4 separate regions of the Homo sapiens genome follow, and regions 1, 2 and 4 are each linked to region 3. The links are contacts of gene promoters, found by promoter capture Hi-C in blood cells and fetal thymus (Javierre and others, 2016). All regions are on one chromosome and are shown on one strand. Each heading gives the region's core, a stretch centred on a gene start or on the middle of the fragment in contact. The rest is flanking DNA. Distances are from core to core; before and after follow the strand shown. Region 1 overlaps COL9A3 (collagen type IX alpha 3 chain). Region 2 holds the start of BHLHE23 (basic helix-loop-helix family member e23). Region 3 holds the start of MIR1-1HG (MIR1-1 host gene). Region 4 overlaps OGFR (opioid growth factor receptor).

Region 1 (3,591 bases), core at 783-3,282, 290 kb after region 3:
GTGTTTTGGGGGGTTTTGTTTGTTTTTTTTTGAGATGGAGTCTCGCTCTTTCGCCCAGGCTGGAGTGCAGTGACGCCATCTCGGCTCACTGCAACCTTCCCAGTTCAAGCGATTCTCCTGCCTCAGCTTCCTGAATAGCTGGGATTACAGGCGCCTGCCACCACGCCCAGCTAATGTTTGTATTTTTAGTAGAGACAAGGTTTCACCATGCTGGCCAGGCTGGTCTCGAATTCCCGACCTCAGGCAATCTGCCCGCCTCGGCCTCCCAAAGTGCTGGGATTACAGGTACGAGCCACCGCCCCTGGCCTAATTGTTGTATTTTTAGTAGAGACGGGGTTTCACCATGTCGGCCAGGCTGGTCTCAAACTCCTGACCTCAGGTGATCCACCTGCCTCAGCCTCCCAAAGTGCTGGGATTACAGGCGTGAGCCGCCGTGTCAGGCCCACAGCTGGTTTTTAACTGAAGAAAACTCCACTTCCACAGGCCTAAAACTCAGGTGAAGCATAAAATTACGTTCTTGTTTGAGTCCCTTGATAGGCACATTTCTCCTTCTGGAGGTAACAAATGGAGCAGTCGTGAGTCCGAGGGAAGGACGGCCTTTCTGGCTTTCCCGAGGGGGGTTTTCATCTATGATTAAGTCTTTCCTTTGCGTCTGGGTGAAATAGAAACAGCCTAGCCCCAGGGACCCCAGTCTCTGGCAGACCCCCACAGCCCAGTGTAAACTTTTTATGCCTGGGGACAAAAGACCTCAGTTGTATGTGTTTCATTTAGTGAATTCTTTTTTTATTTTTTTTTGAGACGGAGTCTTGCTCTGTCCCCAGGCTGGAGTGCGGTGGTGTGATCTCAGCTCACTGCAATCTCTGCCTCCTGCGTTCAAGCGATTCTCCTGCCTCAGCCTCCCGAGTAGCTGGGACTACAGGTGCCCACCATCACACCCGGCTAATTTTTGTATTTAGTAGAGATGGGGTTTCACCATGTTGGCCGGGCTGGTCTCAAACTCCTGACCTTGTGATCCGCTCGCCTTGGCCTCCCAAAGTGCTGGGATTACAGGCGTGAGCCACCTCGCCCAGCCCATTTAGTGAATTCTTAGACAACACTGACAAATGGACCCTGGAAATCCCAGAAGCTGCCCTACGTGGCCACTGTTGCTGGTGGGGTGAGGGGCAGAGCCCCTTGCAGGCGGAAAACCTAAGGCTTTGCTCTCAGCTACTCGCACGGTCGGGCTGTGTGAGGTGACCCCCTACCCTCCTGGCCTCCGCGGAGCATGCTGTCTGGGCCCGGTCGGTCCCTCTGCTGTGCGGTTAGACTGTGTCAGTCTGTATTCTGCAGCTGTAACAGAACACCGCAGCTTGGGTAGTTTACAAGGGAAAGAGATCCATGTGGCTCCTAGTTCTGGAGGCTGGGAAGCCCAAGACCGAGGGGTGCATCCATCGAGGGCCTCCCCACTGCGTCATTCCATGGTGGAAGGCAGAAGGGCCAAGAGGAGGTGCCAGAGAGAGAAAGGGGCCCAACCCATCCTTTTCATGAGGAACCCACTGCGGAGACAACGGTGTTAGTTTACTCCGGAGAGCCGAGCTCTCAAACCTAATCACCTCTTAATAGCATTGCAGTGCAGTGGCCGTTCAATTGCAGCATGTGTTTTGGAGGAGACATTAACCCGGCTGACTGTGTGTTGACGCACCTGGGGCCAGTCATTCCTGAGGACCCAGCTGGAGGGGGTTCCAGGGTTTTAGGGCAGAGAGGTTCAGCCCAGCATTAGGCGTGTTAGTAAGAAAAAGGAATGGAAGCAAAGTAAGCGTGTGTAAGAGACAGCACCGTGCAGCTAACAAAGTCACTCTTCCCAGGAAAGTAAGTTTTTAAAAAGCTTCAATCAATCAGTGCAATCACAGAAATATAAAAAATGTATATAGAAGAACGGAAGGAACCACTGTCAATATTTGGATGTAGTCTAATAGCAGGTGTGTGGATGATTTGATTTATTTTATCCTCAACTGGCTACTTCCCACCCACCCAACAATACACTTAGTTCAAACACACAACTTTTCTCTTCACAGGGTCCCAGCGGCCTGGTCGGACCCAAAGGAGAGGTGAGTGCCCGGCGACTGTTCCGATGACACCATCCATGGGCGCCTGCTGGCTTCCTGCCCACCTCTGGGCAACCAGGCAGCCCTGCAGGGCACTGCCCAGATCCGAGATGTAAAAAAGCTTGCTCTGGTCAAGGCTGGGCAAGACGGCTCCGTGCCGGCTGGGAAAGAGCACGTCGGGGTGGCTCTGGGCTCCTGGGCTCGCCCCTGACCCACCTTCCTCTGTTCCTCTGCAGTCTGGCAGTCGAGGGGAGCTGGGCCCCAAAGGCACCCAGGGTCCCAACGGCACCAGCGGTGTTCAGGGTGTCCCCGGGCCCCCCGGTCCTCTGGGCCTGCAGGGCGTCCCGGGTGTTCCTGGCATCACGGGGAAGCCGGGAGTTCCGGTACGTCGCTTTTCCGGCTTTTCCAGCTTTCACAGGGTTGAGATCGTGTTTTTTCCGGAAGGAAGTTACTTTGCGGGGTGACGGTGGGAATGCCTCACCGAGGCTGCCGCCCCCATGCTGACGAATGTGTGGGGTGAATTCCAGGGGAAGGAGGCCAGCGAGCAGCGCATCAGGGAGCTGTGTGGGGGGATGATCAGCGGTAAGTCAGCCACGTGCACCGGCTGCAGCGGGGCCCATCCCCGCCTGGGGGTCCCGTGCCTGGGGCTACACAGAAAGCCTTCGTGCCACTGCTTTCCAGCCAAAGTGAGCCCCTAGCACTCACCCCGCCTGTTAGCCCTTGGGGGTCCACGTCCGCCTTGGCGTCTGCCTGTCCTCTGCGCTAGAGGATGGCCCACGCTCCCGCCCCGGATTCAACCAGATTCCCAGCACGCAGCAGACGCCCTAAAGCCTGCTGAATGCAATGGGTACAAGAACAGCGGAGTGTGCCCCTGTGGCTGGCAGGGCAGGTCCCTAAACACCCCCAAGGGCACTTCCTTCACCTTCCCACTCAGGCTTCTCAGGCTCCAAGGGGTTGGGGGTCCTTTCTAGCTCCAGCATTCATCACCCCAAAGCAGTTAAACCATTTTCCATCAATCAGAAGGAAAACTTGCTTCTGGAAGACAGCACCGTGTAGATATTTTATGCTTTACGTAACAATACTTCTGATGATCCTCTCTCGAGTAAACGCCTGCACCCTTGTTTTCCCAAAGAACAAATTGCACAGTTAGCCGCGCACCTAAGGAAGCCTTTGGCACCCGGGTCCATTGGTCGGCCCGGTCCAGCTGGCCCCCCTGGGCCCCCAGGACCCCCAGGCTCCATTGGTCACCCTGGCGCTCGAGGACCCCCTGGATACCGCGGTCCCACTGGGGAGCTGGGAGACCCCGGGCCCAGAGGTGAGTGTTTGACCCCATGACACGGTCACCCTGCTGTAAAAATCCCTGAGACTGACTTGTTAGTAGGCGCTGCTTCTGGTGCCTGCCATGCGCCCTCAGGGGTAACCCCTGGAACGTGGGGGCCTCTCATGTTTTGGGGCCTAGCGCAGTTAACTCCTTGGTAATCCTGTGGGAACTGGAACATTTTTAACA
Region 2 (3,573 bases), core at 962-3,461, 460 kb after region 3:
AGACTTAACCATACACTTGATTTTGCAAGTACAGAAGGCCCTGTGGAATGTATTAATCAGAGTTAAACGCTGTAGACAGGCGCGTTGCAGGGCGGCGGCCCTCTCCCCTTGGCATTACCGACAGCCGAGGAAATTGGGTTAATAAAGCCGGATACTGCGGCGGGGCCGCGGGGCGCAAACCGGCGCGGACAGATGGGTCCCCGGGGGCACCCTGCCCGGCTCCCTGGATCCCGGATGGTGGCAGAGCTGGGAGCTGCGCAGGACGGGCACTGCGCAGCGCATCTCCGTTCACACCCGGCGGGGCACGGGGCCCGCAGCAGCTTACTCACCCGTAGCCCGGCCTCCTCCCTCGGAAGGGAGAGGGGATCGGTGGGGAGGGGGTTTGCTGGACACCAGGGCTAGACGGGGCCCTCCCCTGACCGTCAGGGTTAAGTAGGGCGCGGGCTGTGAGGACCCTCCTCCACGCAGCCCCCCGAGGCAGAGGGCCCGCAAAGCGGTCTCCATCCAACTCCACCCCGCGGACGTCCCAGGCAGCGGATGGCGGCGGGGGGGGGAGGCCAGGGGACATTTAGGGGACAAATTCCTCAGACTTCGAGGCAGCCGGCGACGGCGTCCAATTCCCAAATAAATAGAACAAACTCCTACTTGGAAAAGGCCTTCCCCGGGGTCTTCCTGCGCCCGCGGTCCAGCTCCTCTGCAGACGGCCATCGTGGGCTCTCCGCAGGGCTGCGGAGTCTCGGAGTCACCGAGGTGGGAGGTGCCGGCCACGCGCGTCCTCAGGAACAGAGCACTGCCCTGCAGTTTAGCACGAAGGGCCGGCTGGAGCGGGAGCGCGAGGCCCACTGCAAGAGGATCAGGAGCCAGTAAGTCCGGCTTTTCTTCGTCTCCACCTTTCGTGCGCCCGGGGCCAGGACCGCCTGTCCGGAATCTGACCAGTGCCCGTCCTCGCCGTGGCCCTGGGACCCCGCGGTGGTCTTCTTTTGGGGACGAACGGCAGTGCCCGAAGGATGCTCTACCCACCCCCGTTCCTAGACTTGCTGGGTCCCGACAATACCCAGTGGGTGCCGCGAGTTCCCGGGCGCAGAGTCCAGCGTCCGGCTCTCGAGCTCAATCCCGCGCCCCGACGGCCTTGGCGCTTCCCGCTGCGCTAAACTGTCCACCGCGCACAGGCTGGAAGCGAAGTCGGGCCCCCTCCTCCTGGTCTGCAGGGTCCCTCCAGGCCTTTCCTGTCCGGGCAGAGAGACAGTCACAGGGGCGATCGGAGGACGCGTGCGGGAGGGCCGGGGGCCCGCGCGGTCACGGCTTCTCGTGACAGTGTTTGCAAAGCGCGGAGGGCGTCCCGGAGAAGGCGGCGCACTTGTCAGGGCAGGGCCCCAGGGCGGCGCCTGCGGAGAAGGGGCACACAGTGGCCTGGCCGAAGGGCGTCAAGGGCGCGGCGTTTACGGGCGCGGCCAGGCCCTGGCCCTGGTTGAGGAAGGCCACCAGGCGCCGCATCTCGTCCAGGGCCTGCGCCTGCATGAGGATATAGTTCTTGGCGAGCAGCAGCGTGGCGATCTTGGAGAGCTTGCGCACCGACGGGCTGTGCGCGTAGGGGATGACGGCTCGCAGCCCGTCCAGCGCGTCGTTTAGGTCGTGCATGCGCCGCCGCTCGCGCGCGTTGATGCTGAGCCGCAGAGACCGCTGCTCTCGCGGCCGCCGCCGCCCGTCCGCCGCGCTCCCTGGCCCGCGCCGCCGCCGCCGCTGCTCGAAGGCGTCGTCCTCGTCCCCGCTCTGTTCGCCGCTGCTCTCCGCCGCCTGAGCTGGGGCGCGAGGTGCAGGCGCCGCGGGGAGGTCGCCGCCCGGGCCCGGAGTGCCGTAGCCGCGGGCCGCTTCGGGTTCTCGCGCCGCCCCGTAGGCGAGACCCGCAGCCGCCGCCGCGTAGCCGTGGCTTAGTGCCAGGTACGCGTCCCCCGACAGCGACTTGAGCTCGGCCATGGCCGCGCCGCCTGGGCTCGGGGGCTCGCCGGGTGGGCGGATGCTCATGTGGGTGAGCAGCCCCCGAGGCCGGCCCGAGCCCGCCGCTGCCGCTGCCGCTGCGATGAGGCTCCCGGCTCTGCGCGTCGGTCTGGCTTGCCTGCGGGTCCCAGAGCCTCGGCGCCCGCTGCCTCCTCCGCCTCTTCCTTCTCTCCCACCTCCTCTCCCTCCCAGCCGCGACGCGCAGGGGGCGGGCTCTACCTCCCCCTCGCCCCCGCTTCGGTTTTAAGCCGCGGAGGCGCCCGGTGGGACCTCGCTGCTGTCCAATCAGGGGGGACCGGGTGAGCTCCTCTTCCTGGAGCCGGGCTCCACCAGCGCCGCAGGCTCACAGGCCGGGGGTGGGGGCTCTGGACCGAGGGGCGGCGCGGGGCGGCGCGGGGCGGCGCGCGCGGTCCTGGAGCGCTAGTACTTGCTTCTCGACTCCCCGGCCGCCGCCTCCGGCCGCCCCGGGGATTCCGCCACCAAACGCACGCGTCCCAGGTGGGCACCCGCCTCGGTCCGTCTTTGAGTCTGACCCTAGCGCAAGAGTCCCTGGCGACACGCAGGGGCCAGAGCGGGGGGGCGCGCCGCAATAGCAGCAGCGCCAGCGCCAACACCCTGTCCCGCTGAGGGGCCGCTTCGGGTCGGGGTCAGGGTCGTGGGCGCTCTGGTGCAGCCGCGGCGCAGCGTGTACCCGGAGCCCGCACACTCCCTGCTCGGGGCGCCCTGTGGCCAGGCTTGAGGGGCAGAGTGAGAGGGAGTTTCTAGAACCTGTTGAAAAACGCCACGAGCGTTGCAGGCCGGGGAGGGCGGGAAGGTGGAGGGCAGCGCGGCCTGGGGCTCCCCGGGGGTGGGAGGGGAGCTCTGTGAGCTGCAGGACCGCCTCTTCCCTGCCAGCCGCTTCCTGGGCATCTATCAGCGAAACGCGTGAGGCTTGGTGGGCTTTCCCGGAGCCTCCGAACCCCTGGGGTCCAGCCACACTGGATGGGAATGTGGCCAGCCTCGGACTCGCCTTTTCAGTCCTCTTCCAACCCCGCATGAAGGCCAGAACCCCAGCCCTTCTCCCAGGTGGGAACCTGCCTGGAGGCCCGGCCGAGTGCTGAGGCTAGAGTGTGCTGAGGGATAGTGGCTTCTCCGGTCCTGGCTTGGGTGGGAGACTGGGCCACCCTGGCCTATGGCACGAGGTGGAGCGGCCCGTCGGGCCCTTCTGTGTGACCTGGGAAGGGCCGCATACCCTCCCTGTTCTCCAGGCTCCGCCCCAGGAGGAGCCACAGCGATGGGGCAGTGTGCGCAGCCCCGGGAGGGGAGTGGGAGCTGCACGTGTGTGGGGCGGATGTGCTGTCTGGAAGGTTCTGGGAACGCAGCAGTGACCGGCCTGTCCGGTGGTTCCCTGCCAGGTGCGGGGTGTGAGGAGACAGATGCATGGATAAGTCTCCGTGGGAAACTCAGGCCTTTGTCCTGGCGGAGGGGAATGGGTCTGAGGCAGCCTCTGCCGGGCTGGCGGCCTGTCTGGCTGCGCGTCCTGCAGCACCGGCCTCACCCCCAGCACACGCCCGCCAGGAGCGCAGGGGCCCCGAGGAT
Region 3 (3,589 bases), core at 948-3,447:
CACACCCAGCTCCGATCAGTGCTTGGTATGGGACCTTGGGAGAGTGAGGCACCCACCCTGAGCCCACGTTCCTTCTCCGTAAAGTGGGGACAGCAAAATGCTCTCCTCTTAGGGATGCCTTGAGTGCAGCATAGAGCCCCTGCAGAAGCTTCTGGAACACCAGGCAGCCTAAGTGCTGTGTGCCGGCTGTTACTGTGAGGCTGGTGCTATGGGTAAACGGGGGAACTGCTCTGTCTTCTGGCTCTGTCCTACGGCCTGGGGGCTGTCAGATCTGGCCACCCACACCAGCCCTTCTCCTGGAAGGAGATGGCCCTGTGCCCGTGCCCTGGTCCGTGGGTGTGGGGCTGCCGTGAGGAGGGTGATTTATGGCCACGTCTGCTGCATACCCTCTCTCTCACCACCACAAAGCACCCGCATCCTTTACAGAGCCGCCTGCCCAGGCCTGCAGACTGCTCCCCACCTCCCCCATTGTGGCTGTCTATGCCCCTGACCCCAGCTGCAGGCCTGGCCTGCCCCCCTCAACCCTGCCTGGAGACGGCAGGCAGGAGGAAGTGGGCTGCAGGGGAGGGGCCTTGCAGGGGGAGTTTGGACACCACACCTCACACCACGCTCTCCCGCTGCCAGTGGGAAGCCGAGTGGCTATTTAGTTTCCAGAAAAGTGCTCAGACCAGGTAGAAGCTTAAAACCTCCTGGCCTCCTTTATGGTGAGACATGGGGTCTTTAGCGGGGCGTACAGGGCTGGGAGAAGGGCCTGGCATCACTCAAGAAGCCTCTGCACTGGGCAGGTGCAGGGGGCGTCCCTCTGTCCCTCGCTGTCGCTGGCCGGAGGACACCAGAGTGGGTGTCGGCGTGTGTGGCGAGTGTGGCTGGGGCTCCGGCTTCTCCCCATGACTCTGCAGAGCCGGCCTTGGGATGTGGGGAAGGGGCCGTGAGCCCAGGAGGTGAACCTGGAGGAGAGCCCTGCCTCAGCTCCTGTGGGCCAGCCTGGGGGGTGTGCAGGCTCCTCAGGGGCTCCCCTGGGATTAGATGCAGCTGAGCCTGTTCTGAGCGGCATAGACTCCCCGGCCCTGTGTCCCTAACTGGCCAGAACCACAAGGGGATGCCTTCCTAAGTCCGGGAGGCACTGGGGACATTTATGAGGTGGCTTCTGAACAGGAGGACCTATGCTCTGGACAGGACTCACAAATACCAAAGCTCATTGTCCCCATCACACGGGCCTGTGCCTGCCACCAACGAGCGGGGTCCCCGGACCACTGTGGTCCACTGTCATTCCACGACCTGGTCCCCAGTCCTGTGGGGCCCCAGAGAGATGGGACGACCAGCCAGCGTCACACAGCCTGTGAGGACAGTCTGCCAGTTCAGGCCTCTGGTCTCTGCGTCCAGGCCCTGCAAGGACAGATCCCCGTCAGGCCCCGTCCCAGGCCCTCGTCTGTTACATAATTCGGGCGTGAAATCCCGGAAGGGGGAGCTCCTGAGCCCGTCCAGCACCCGGGATTGGGGTCTCCCCATCACACACCCTTGGTGGCAGGGCCTGGCTGGGGGCGGCAAGCAGGTTGACCTTGCCTCTGTCCAAGGCGACTGGCATTTGTCATGACTTGGGGTTGGCTTGAGAGTCTCCGGAAACCCAGGTGGCTCTGTCACCACCTGATCCTGGCCCCAATTCTAGGCAAAAGGGCAGAGCCGATGGGACTGTGGAGGGGGCCACCCACTCCTGGTGGCCTGGGTGGGCTCAGCCCACTGGAGGCTCAGAGCAGCGAAGGAGGCCGTACCATTCTGCCCGCCCCCCCCACCCCCGGCCCTGCAGCCTGGGAGATGCCCGGGTCTCCCCAGGGCACCCTAGGAGCCGGCTGGCATGGCATGGAGGCTGCTGCCCGGCTACTGAGGAGGCGCCTCTGTACTGGCTGGGCTAAAAATAGCGGGGGGATCTCGGGCAGGGACAGCCGGTGGGAGGCCTGTCAGGGAGGGGCCGGGAGGGGCAGGACAGCAGCCTGAGCCCGGGACCCGCCGTCAATGGCGTGGGTGCTCCCACCCTGTTCCCGGTGGCCGGGCCAGCCGCGGCCCAGCTGACAGGCTATTTTTTCCCCTGCTTGACTAAATATGGTCAGGGAGCGCAGCCCGAGGGGGCCACTTGGCCAGGGCCGCGTGTTTGGGATGCTTGGCCGGGTATATAAGAACTGCAAAGGTGAGGCCGGCTCCTGACCCGAGGGGGGCCCCCACGCCCGCTCTGGCCTCTCAGGTCAGGCCCTCCCCTCCCCTCCCCTCCCCTCCCCCGCCCCTGTGTCTCCGCGAGCCGGCTGTGTGCCTGCGAGAGCGTGCACACCCGCGGGACCTTCCCTTTTGTTCCACCCTGACCTCTACCTTCTCTACCTTGTGCTGACCCCGCTGGGGTGCAGGGGTTCCCTTCGGAGGAGGCCGGGGCTCAAGGTGTGCAGCTCGGCCGCCTCTCCCTAACTCTGCACCAGCGCCTTCTCTCTCTCTCTCTCTCTCTCTCTCTCTCTCTCTCTCTCTCAAGATCTCCCTCCTGCTAAGTCTGCGCTGCTGCAGGAGGGCTGGGGGAAGGGCAGGGGTGTGGAGAGGGGGTGCCTGGTGTCTTCTTTCTCTCTCTGCCCCCACCAAGTGCGGACGCATCGAGCTTCGGCCCCCACCCCTGCATTCGCGATTGGCTCCCGGAGGAGGTGGCTGGTGCTGCCGCCGCTGCAGCATCTCCTAGGGAGCCGCGACCCTGCGCCCGCCGCCGCTGCCGCTGTCACCAGCCCGGCCCCAGGGGTGCCCTGGGCTCCGCGGTGAGTCCTGCTCAGCCCATCACCACCGCTGGGCCGCCGGGACGGCCCCTGCAAACTTGCCGGGCACCGCGGTGGGGGGTGTGCCTGCCAGCGAGGTGGGTGCTGCGGGTGCCGGCGCCGTGCGGCTCCGGCGGGGGTGCCGTGGAGTTTTCTCTTGGCTCGCGGCATCATCCACATTTGGAAAACTGCAGAGCCAGCAGCCGGCAGGGCCTGGAGGGCGCGTCCAGCTGGGAGGCAGGAACTTTGACTTGCGGGCATTTTGCAAGAAAGCAGCGGCCCCCCACGCGGGCAGTGGATGGCATGGGGGCTTCGGGGCTGGGCTGGGGGCGCGATTCACCTGCCGCTCCGCAACAAAGCCCCGGCAGCCGGGCGTGGGGCTAAACTTACCTTGAACTTGCAGTATCCCCCACTGAGGTGCTGGTGGGGGGCAGGGATTCCCGAGCTGAGCGGCGGCGAGGCTGCCCCCGGCCGGGACTCGGCACTTCTGCAGCTCTCCCAGCCACGTCAGGGTCAGGAGGCGTTTACAGGGGCAGGGCGGCGAGGTGGGGGGCGGGGGGCACATGTGGGCGGAGACTAGGGGGGCTTCGGGGAGAGCAGCCCTGGTGGTCGGCGTCTGTGCAGGTCCCTGCTGGGGAGCTTGACTTCCCGCGTGGCCTCCCGCGGCGCTGATGCCGGGGGCCGGGCGGTATTCACCGCTGAAGAGCCCCGGAGGAGGCCCCGGGCACAGGAGCCAGCTCGGCTCACGGTGGGGTCTGCTTGGAGGCGGCTGGGTGCTCTTTTTCTATGCAGACGGGAAACTTTTTGAA
Region 4 (3,245 bases), core at 1-2,500, 260 kb after region 3:
GGGACCCACGGCCACCCCCACACTCAGGAACCGGGGCTTCAGGGATGGTGCCTGAGCTCTCCAAGGGGGTCTTTTCCAGGTGTTTAAAAGCTCCCAGGAGATCCAGGAGCGGCTTGTCCGGGCCTACGAGCTCATGCTGGGCTTCTACGGGATCCGGCTGGAGGACCGAGGCACGGGCACGGTGGGCCGAGCACAGAACTACCAGAAGCGCTTCCAGAACCTGAACTGGTGAGGCCCGGCTGCTCCCGCCCACCCCCACCCCGGCGCAGAACAGGGCCACGTCAGGTTTCGGGCAGGTCACAGAGCGCTGCTGCAGACGGAGAACTCCAGGGCTGTTTGGGCAATGGACCAAGGCCCTGAGTCCCCTCCTTGCTGCCTGTAGAGCCGGGCGGTCCCTCCCCGATAGGGTTGGTGAGAAGGTAAAGAATGCTCTTCCTGCACCCAGGAGGTGGCAGTCCACATAGAGAAGCAAGCAGGGGTGATGGAGAACCTGCAGGCGGTACAGCCAGTTCTCACAGGGTGTTCGAGGCGCCTGTACCCTGCAGGGGCCCCTTGTGGCTCTCATCCAGCCAGCTCCTCCCCACCAGGGGGACTCGGGGTACAGCCACCCTCTAGGTGATGCGTCAGCATCCCCCTAACCCCCGTGTGTCTAGGGCCCACAGGCCATTTTCACAGGGATGGCATGAGTCCTCCCCTGGGCCCAGAGAGGTAAATGGAGAGAGAGACTGAATCGTGGGCCAGGGTGGGGAGACCTCGTGGAGCCGGGTGGGAGGGCAGGCCAGGGCGGGGTGCGGCCCAGCAGGAGGGGCCCCAGCCATTGACCTCTCCTGACCCGGATCTCTCGCAGGCGCAGCCACAACAACCTCCGCATCACACGCATCCTCAAGTCGCTGGGTGAGCTGGGCCTCGAGCACTTCCAGGCGCCGCTGGTCCGCTTCTTCCTGGAGGAGACGCTGGTGCGGCGGGAGCTGCCGGGGGTGCGGCAGAGTGCCCTGGACTACTTCATGTTCGCCGTGCGCTGCCGACACCAGCGCCGCCAGCTGGTGCACTTCGCCTGGGAGCACTTCCGGCCCCGCTGCAAGTTCGTCTGGGGGCCCCAAGACAAGCTGCGGAGGTTCAAGCCCAGCTCTCTGCCCCATCCGCTCGAGGGCTCCAGGAAGGTGGAGGAGGAAGGAAGCCCCGGGGACCCCGACCACGAGGCCAGCACCCAGGGTCGGACCTGTGGGCCAGAGCATAGCAAGGGTGGGGGCAGGGTGGACGAGGGGCCCCAGCCACGGAGCGTGGAGCCCCAGGATGCGGGACCCCTGGAGAGGAGCCAGGGGGATGAGGCAGGGGGCCACGGGGAAGATAGGCCGGAGCCCTTAAGCCCCAAAGAGAGCAAGAAGAGGAAGCTGGAGCTGAGCCGGCGGGAGCAGCCGCCCACAGAGCCAGGCCCTCAGAGTGCCTCAGAGGTGGAGAAGATCGCTCTGAATTTGGAGGGGTGTGCCCTCAGCCAGGGCAGCCTCAGGACGGGGACCCAGGAAGTGGGCGGTCAGGACCCTGGGGAGGCAGTGCAGCCCTGCCGCCAACCCCTGGGAGCCAGGGTGGCCGACAAGGTGAGGAAGCGGAGGAAGGTGGATGAGGGTGCTGGGGACAGTGCTGCGGTGGCCAGTGGTGGTGCCCAGACCTTGGCCCTTGCCGGGTCCCCTGCCCCATCGGGGCACCCCAAGGCTGGACACAGTGAGAACGGGGTTGAGGAGGACACAGAAGGTCGAACGGGGCCCAAAGAAGGTACCCCTGGGAGCCCATCGGAGACCCCAGGCCCCAGCCCAGCAGGACCTGCAGGGGACGAGCCAGCCGAGAGCCCATCGGAGACCCCAGGCCCCCGCCCAGCAGGACCTGCAGGGGACGAGCCAGCCGAGAGCCCATCGGAGACCCCAGGCCCCCGCCCGGCAGGACCTGCAGGGGACGAGCCAGCCGAGAGCCCATCGGAGACCCCAGGCCCCAGCCCGGCAGGACCTACAAGGGATGAGCCAGCCGAGAGCCCATCGGAGACCCCAGGCCCCCGCCCGGCAGGACCTGCAGGGGACGAGCCAGCCGAGAGCCCATCGGAGACCCCAGGCCCCCGCCCGGCAGGACCTGCAGGGGACGAGCCAGCCGAGAGCCCATCGGAGACCCCAGGCCCCAGCCCGGCAGGACCTACAAGGGATGAGCCAGCCAAGGCGGGGGAGGCAGCAGAGTTGCAGGACGCAGAGGTGGAGTCTTCTGCCAAGTCTGGGAAGCCTTAAGGAAAGGAGTGCCCGTCGGCGTCTTGGTCCTCCTGTCCCTGCTGCAGGGGCTGGGGCCTCCGGAGCTGCTGCGGGCTCCCCTCAGGCTCTGCTTCGTGACCCGTGACCCATGACCCACAGTGCTGGCCTCCTGTGGGGCCACTATAGCAGCCACCAGAAGCCGCGAGGCCCTCAGGGAAGCCCAAGGCCTGCAGAAGCCTCCTGGCCTGGCTGTGTCTTCCCCACCCAGCTCTCCCCTGCGCCCCTGTCTTTGTAAATTGACCCTTCTGGAGTGGGGGGCGGCGGGCAGGGCTGCTTTTCTTAGTCTGATACCAAGCAAGGCCTTTTCTGAATAAATTCATTTGACTTTGAGTCTTTGGTATGGACCGGGGTCCTGTTGGGTGGCTGGTAGGGCTGGTGTCACAGCTGATGTCCCTCCAGGCTCCAGTGGCCTGGCCCGGCGACCGCCTCACATTGCTCCACCAGGTGCCTGTGGGGGCAGAGTGGTGGCCCAGCCCTCCCCACACACCCACTTGGCCACACAGTCCCCAGGCATGAACAGGTGGGCAGGCTGCAGCCTCCCAGAGCCTCTGAAGGTGGAACCGAGGTCCCTCAGCAGGCTTTTGCCACCTGTTCAAGATGAGTCTGGGGCTTCCCTTGGGGTTGGCCGGGGCAGTGCTTGTGCATGGTGGGGTCTGGACCAGGCCTTTCTGCCTGCTGTGATCTGGGATGCGCTGCTGTGCCTCGGGCAGGCTTGGCAGTACTCTCTGGCGGGCCCCTTGGCTCCCTCAGGTCTGGTGGAGCCAGGTGTGCCCCCAGGGCAGTCCCTCCCTGCAGTCTGCCCTTGTCACCCTGGGCCAGGACCCCCCGCTTCCCGGTTCCCCTACATTTCTACATCAGCAGGGTAAGGGGCTTTTTGTGGGGCCTCAGAGGAGGGGCCGGACACTTGTCTTTGCTCAGTGAAGGACAGGGCAGACCTGGGGCACCCCTGGGTGGGAG

Evidence for each region. The method cuts DNA at HindIII sites, captures the fragments that hold promoters and counts their contacts. A CHiCAGO score of 5 or more calls a contact.
Region 1: a contact is called between a fragment that was not itself captured here and the fragment with the promoter of MIR1-1HG in region 3, in 1 of 17 cell types (total CD8 T cells). The highest score is 5.2, in total CD8 T cells.
Region 2: the fragment with the promoter of BHLHE23 here is called in contact with the fragment with the promoter of MIR1-1HG in region 3 in 7 of 17 cell types (neutrophils, erythroblasts, activated CD4 T cells and 4 more); the score reaches 13.0 in neutrophils.
Region 4: a contact is called between a fragment that was not itself captured here and the fragment with the promoter of MIR1-1HG in region 3, in 3 of 17 cell types (naive CD8 T cells, neutrophils and total CD8 T cells). The highest score is 7.0, in naive CD8 T cells.

What each region holds. Positions count from the first base shown.
Region 1 is chr20:62,833,867-62,837,457 of GRCh38, forward strand. COL9A3 (collagen type IX alpha 3 chain) reads left to right here. Exons shown (of 32, transcript NM_001853.4): 27 at 2,055-2,087; 28 at 2,321-2,467; 29 at 2,612-2,666; 30 at 3,217-3,399. Among named protein-coding and RNA genes, the nearest start is that of COL9A3, 19 kb to the left of the region's middle. RefSeq lists enhancers at 1-399, 1,923-3,122. The HindIII fragment of the contact is 341 bases long and covers 1,863-2,203 here.
Region 2 is chr20:63,004,753-63,008,325 of GRCh38, forward strand. BHLHE23 (basic helix-loop-helix family member e23) reads right to left here and starts at 2,212. Exons shown (of 1, transcript NM_080606.4): 1 at 1,175-2,212. The coding sequence starts at 2,022. The coding sequence ends at 1,297. RefSeq lists enhancers at 1,931-2,636, 2,637-3,344. The HindIII fragment of the contact is 10,733 bases long and covers 1-3,573 here.
Region 3 is chr20:62,548,256-62,551,844 of GRCh38, forward strand. It overlaps MIR1-1HG (MIR1-1 host gene), which reads left to right and starts at 2,198. Exons shown (of 4, transcript NR_171007.1): 1 at 2,198-2,783. CRMA (cardiomyocyte maturation associated lncRNA) reads right to left here and starts at 3,306. Exons shown (of 7, transcript NR_033263.1): 1 at 3,171-3,306; 2 at 57-206. RefSeq lists an enhancer at 2,285-3,160. The HindIII fragment of the contact is 7,236 bases long and covers 677-3,589 here.
Region 4 is chr20:62,811,383-62,814,627 of GRCh38, forward strand. It overlaps OGFR (opioid growth factor receptor), which reads left to right. Exons shown (of 7, transcript NM_007346.4): 6 at 80-228; 7 at 848-2,618. The coding sequence ends at 2,267. Among named protein-coding and RNA genes, the nearest start is that of COL9A3, 4.0 kb to the right of the region's middle. The HindIII fragment of the contact is 7,148 bases long and covers 1-3,245 here.